Regions from separate parts of the Homo sapiens genome. Here region 1 is linked to region 2. The links are contacts of gene promoters, found by promoter capture Hi-C in blood cells and fetal thymus (Javierre and others, 2016). All regions are on one chromosome and are shown on one strand. Each heading gives the region's core, a stretch centred on a gene start or on the middle of the fragment in contact. The rest is flanking DNA. Distances are from core to core; before and after follow the strand shown.

Region 1 (2,866 bases), core at 122-2,621, 990 kb before region 2:
AACAAACTTTGATAGCCCAAACTCCCACTTCATGAATCTTCTTGCTTTTCCTCCTACAATGATGATTCTCACCTACAATTCTCACCCTGAACGAAAACGCGCTTGCACTTGCAGATGTTGGTAAGGACAATTCCAAAGGAGAGCTTTACCACAAGATTTAACTTCTTTGGAGAGTCTTAAAAATAATTTTTCAACTAGTTGTTCATTTAAAATGCTACTTAATTTGTAGAACAAGTGAACCTTTCAAATTACCTTACAGTTTATAAAGCACTTACAGATATATTATATATTTAGTAGAAGAAAATAGAGGTGTTCCACCTATGGGAAGTGGGCTGTGGGCCACTTAGTCAGATCCCTACTGACTAAGTGAGCCACTAAGTGGGCCCCTAAGTGGGCCACTTAGTCAGATCCCTACTGAGTGTGCAGTATTAATGTGCAATGTGCAAATTTGGGAAGGGAAATTCAGACAGGCAGTATAGCGAAGGAAAATGACGTGGGAAGCACCAGCTCTGAAAGTCCCAGCCTAGCACCGTGGAGTGGGAGGTCCTGCTGCTGGAGCCATACAGAGCTTGATTCTAATCTCAGCTTTGCTCCTCATAGGGTGGAGGCTTTGAAGCCACATTTCTTGGATCCAAATCAGGCTTTCACTACTTATTTTGTAAACTTGGTCAGCTTTCTGGTGTTTCTTATCTTAGGAATGGAGACAATAATACTACCTGATGCGTAGTATCGTGAGGACTAAATGAGATATGATGTACAATGTTGGGAAGGCGCTGGTGCATTTTATGTCTTCAGTAAATATTAGCTATTATTCTATGAGTGACCTTAGAAATGACCAGTCACATGACTGCCCCCTATTCACTGTCCACACATGTAAAAGGGGAAAAGATAATTGTTACAAGGATTCATAGAGAGCATGTGTTTTGTTAATTTAATTTTAACCTTTTAATTTAAAAAATTACAAATGCATGCAAAAGTAAAAAGACTAATGTAAATAACCCTCATGTGCCCATCATCAAGCTTCAACAATGATCACTTTTTGCCATTTTTCTTTCAATTATTTTCCCACCAGTTTTTGTTTCTGGGATGTTTTCAAGCAAATCACAGATAACATTATTTTAACTATGAATTCTTCAGCATGTAGCTGTGGAAGATTGTTTTCAAGATGACCGCAGTGATTCTTCCATGAGCAGCCCCTTTGCAGTGTGACTTTGCAGCTCATCCCATGAGGAAGTAGTCTGTTTCTCAACAACTTTGAATCTGGGTTGGCCTTGTAATGCACCTTGACTAATGAATGTGGCAAAAATAATGTGGGATTCTAAACCCATGCCTTGTAATTCCTAGGCAAAAGAATCGTCTAGCTGAACCTAATCCATGTTGCTGACATTACCAATTCATAAGTAAATAACACCACTAAATTTTGAGTGGTTTACCGTGCAGTGACAGCTAGCTAACATAGTAATGTGTTTTTTAAAATCCCTAACCTGGATCTTTATATATAACGAACATGAAACTTTTAGCTTCCTGTCCAAAGGACTGAACTCACAAGGCATGAGACATTTTATAACCCTGAGGGTGAGTGTCAGTAGCTGGGGTTTGTGTGGAAGTAGTATTCCATGACATTCATTCTAACCAAGAGCCTTCTGTGGCTGAATTATATATTCCAGCTCAAGTTCTAAAGGATACTGATCCTTGGTCTAAGATGATAGTTCCTAAGCTTTACTGGGTTACAGTCTCCTTTGAGAATCTGATGAAATCTATAAGAATTCTTCCCAGAAAAAATAATGTACATGTACACAGCCCCCTTGCTACACACACACACACACACACACACACGCACACACAGATCTCTATCTACCTATAGATTGTGTGTGTGTGTGTGTGTGTGTGTGAGAGAGAGAGAGAGAGAGAGAGAGAGAGAGAGAGAGGCTTGCTTATATCATAGGGTTTATGGACTAGCCAGTGCATGGATACCAGTTAAGAAACTCTACTGGGTGCTGTGGCTCAAGCCTATAATCCCAGCTACTTGGGAGGCTTAGGTGGGAGGATCACTTGAGCCCAGGGGTTCAAGACCAGCCTGGGCAACATAGCAAGACCCCTTTCCTTAAAAGAAAATTTTTTAATTGGCTGGGTGTGGTGGTGCATGCCTGTAGTCCCGGCTACTTAGGAGGCTGAGGCAGGAGGATTGCTTGGGTCCAGGAGTTCAAGGCTGCAGTGAGCTATGATTGTGGCACTGCACTCCATGTACTCCAGCCTGGGCCACAGAGCAAGACCGTCTCTTAAAAAAAAAAGGAGAAGAAGAGAGGGAGGAGGATGAAGAAAGCAGAAGAAGATGAAGAGGAAGAAGGAGAAGGAAGAGGAAGTAGGAGGAGGAGAAGAAGAAAGAGGAAAGAAGAAGAAAGAAGGAAGAAGTAGGAGGAGGAGAAGAAGAAGGGAAGAAGAAGAAACAAGGAAGTAGAAGAGGAAGAGGAGGAGGAGAGGGAGTGGGAGGAGGAGGGGAGGAAAGGGAAGGAGAAGGAGGAGAATAAACTCTGGTCTTACTTGAGCAGACCTCTACTTGTATACCCAAAATTGCATACTCAACTCTAACTGCCAAATAATCTGTTTGCCAGATATTTATTTCCATTGCTGTTGCTGTTGCAGCTACTTCTGAAAGAGGAGTAACTGTTGGTATGGGTTTCTGGCTGCATTTTAGGTTTAGGGTCTAAAACCTCCTTGAGCAGTGCTTGGTTTAACCAGATTTGGTTCAGGGTCTTTTGAAGCTCTGGGTTCATTCTTCCACCTCCCACCCCTTGACCTTCATTTAACCCAAGCATTGAGCAATATAATGCTCAGGAAGTTAGTTGGCAGCTGCCAGCAGGACCTC
Region 2 (2,892 bases), core at 86-2,585:
TGTGTCCTCTCCTGTCCTTCTTCACATCCCTTGGCTTATCATCTGCAAGAAGGGGCAGTAAGGCTCTTTGGTAAGCGGGTTTCTTTGACTGGAATGCCCAATCCTCTACTGCCAACCCTCTATCCATCTATTGTAAAAACTACAGAATTCCTGGCCATCTAACTGGGCAACAAAAGTGAAGGCCAAGAGAAGATACCCAATGCCATCTTCTCCCATTCCAGCTGGAGGACTAAGACTCTAGGAGGCAAGGGGAAAGGGTGTCCTGGCTTTACTGTGAGAACTGGAGCAACTAAATTTTCTTCTCTGGGAGTCAGTTTTCCCTTTAGAAGGAGAGAGCTGGGCTGGAGGGCCCCAGGGGAATATGGATCGGTGGCAAAAAGAATGCTCAGCAAGCAATTTAACTCCTCAGACCGTGCCCCATCTTCAAAATGAGTGACAATAAAATGAATAATTGCACGTGGTCCACAAGGCCCCTGAATTTAAGTAAATCACACAAAGTGCTTAGCAGAGTCCCATGAACATAACGCGTTCCATAGATGTTACCTCTATTCCTGCTATTGTCATCATTCCGACCCTAACATTCAAGGTGTCTCTATTAAGCAAAAGGATTCCTTTGTGAATAATTTTAATCCGCCAATGTACTCAAGGGTCTATCTTAAGCACAGCTCTAGAGCCCTGATTGTAGCGCTTTCCATGGCCTGACGACCAGCTTTCCTGTCTCAAGGGGAAATCTGAGAATGGCCGAACAGCCATGACAGTCCTCTCGAAGAGTTCATTCCCCCTTCTCTCCGCGACCTGCTGAGGTCTGAGCCCGACTTCCCCAGCACGCCCATCTCAGTCACCATTGGTCGCCTCCTCGCTGGCGTGACTAAGACCCAGCCCTCTTCTCGCTGGGACCACTCTGAGGCGATCTGCGGAAGCTGAGGGGCCTCGGAGGAGGGGCCGCGATGCATCTCGGGCTTTGTAGTCCACCTGCACAACTACAGCCAGAGAGCGGGGCCTCACGAACCGGAGAACTACAATCCCCAGCAGCCGGGCGGAAGCGGAGCGAGGGGGGGCTCGCGTCACGTGGGCGTTCGGCCTGGGCGGGCTATTTCTCAGTGCGGCGGCGGCGGCGGTGGCGGCGGCTCCGGGGACCGGGGCCTTTTGTTTGGAGCGGCTGCGGGGGGGCCCCGGAGCGGCGAGGCCGGCGGCCTTCCCCAGCTTGCTCGGTCCCGGCCACCCCTCGCGGGGGTGGGGGGCCGCCCCCTGGGCCGGGCATCTCCTCAGGCGCCGCCGCCCCGCCCTAGGCCGGCCCCGCCCGGCCTGAGGGGAGGAACCGGCCGGGCCTCGCCGCGCGGCCCAGCCACCTCCGGAGTCGCCGCCTCTGCTCTCAGTGCCCCGGATCGGAGGCCGTCCATCGCCCCTCGGGCCGACGCCATGAAGATCAAAGATGCCAAGAAACCCTGTAAGACGGGGGCTGGGGCCCGCCAGGTTGGGAGGGCACCCTTGGGCCCCGTCTGAAAGCCCCTTGGCTGGGCGGTCGGCTTCCAAGCCCGTCGCTCCTCGCCGGCGCTTCGTCCGGTATGGGGGCGGAGGGACCATTTGAGCCACGAGTTCGAGGCTTCCGTCCTCCCCATCCCCCTATTCATGCATGGTGAATGCCTGCCGCCCCCTAGCCTTTCCTCCCACTTTCTCTTCGAGATCTGGGAGGTGCCAGAGGGAATTTCTGATTCTGATTTTTGTCAAACCAGACTAGTCTCCTCTCCCAGCTCCCCCTGAATTCAGGTTGAAAAGAGGCGGTCGCGGCTGTCAGGTTGCGCTGGCGGCTTTTAGCACCTGTTTTTAGGGATTTCCGGGCTTCCTGCTTGTGTCCTTGAAATGCCGGTGGGTTCCTGGGAGTTGTCACTGTTGTTACAGTTGGAGCTTTCAAACGTACGTGCATGCAGTCTGCCAGTGTGTAATTGCTTTGGCTTGTTTTTGTTTAGAATATCAACTAGTTCATGTTTGTTTTAGAAAACGCAGATAAACAAGAAAGATAAAGTCACCCGTATTCCCCGCACCCGGAGCGAACCGCTATTAATATTATGGTGAATACCCGTAGATATTTTTCTATGCATGTACTTAAATTCTGACTATGCTTTTAGAAAGGTCGACTTTCATTTGCTTCCTTTTATGTTTAGTCTTTTAAAAACCTTTTATTCCAGTAATTGACTTATTTAATCACCCAGCCATTGTGATTGTCACTCTTTTTAAGTATAGCCTCCCAGAAGGACTAGGAACGTGGGGATTCATGCTCATCTTAGAGTCGTATTGATACTTTTGCTGTTTTTACAGTGTTTCATGTGATCTCTTTAACTGTTAAGAAATCCACAACTATAAAACAGGGCGCTGACACCTTCCCTGCCCGCCTATCGGGGTTCCTGTAAAACTCACCTGAGAGGCAACAAGCCAAAACCCTGTGAAAACTACAAATTCCTATATAACTGTAAGGTAATTTGGTCTTAACTTCACAGGTGAGGAAATTGAACTTAGCCCCAGAGTAACTTTTCCAAGCATGTACCAACCATGTGCTATGTGGTTCATAACTCTAAGGGGACTGACTCATAATACAGTGTTCTTTCTCTTGCACCCATAGAGCATTGTCTAAGTACTTTATCTGGTAGTTTCATCTGTTAATTAAAATTTTTAAAAAATTATTTATAACTGAATAGATCCTGTCATAGTTGTTCAAGAAATCTATAAAATAGTGATGTGAAGGCTTAAATGAAAAGTAATATAGAGAGACTTTAAATTTTCATTTGCTGAATTAAACTAATGCATCTTGAACAGGTGCAGTAATTAGAACACTTGGACATTTTCCCTCACGCATACGTTTTCTCTGCTTCTCTTAGAATTTCCATTTGGTGAACA

Evidence for each region. Contacts are between HindIII fragments. The CHiCAGO score rates a contact against its expected background, and 5 or more counts as called.
Region 1: a fragment that was not itself captured here is called in contact with the fragment with the promoter of PANK3 in region 2 in 2 of 17 cell types (naive CD4 T cells and total CD8 T cells); the score reaches 5.8 in naive CD4 T cells.

The regions. Positions count from the first base shown.
Region 1 is chr5:169,567,300-169,570,165 of GRCh38, reverse strand. All of the region lies in intron 2 of LOC105377714 (a long non-coding RNA gene), which reads left to right. Among named protein-coding and RNA genes, the nearest start is that of SPDL1, 15 kb to the left of the region's middle. The HindIII fragment of the contact is 697 bases long and covers 1,023-1,719 here.
Region 2 is chr5:168,577,811-168,580,702 of GRCh38, reverse strand. PANK3 (pantothenate kinase 3) reads left to right here and starts at 1,335. Exons shown (of 7, transcript NM_024594.4): 1 at 1,335-1,447. The coding sequence starts at 1,420. RefSeq lists a silencer at 1,058-1,387 and enhancers at 904-1,447, 1,538-1,607. The HindIII fragment of the contact is 14,951 bases long and covers 1-2,892 here.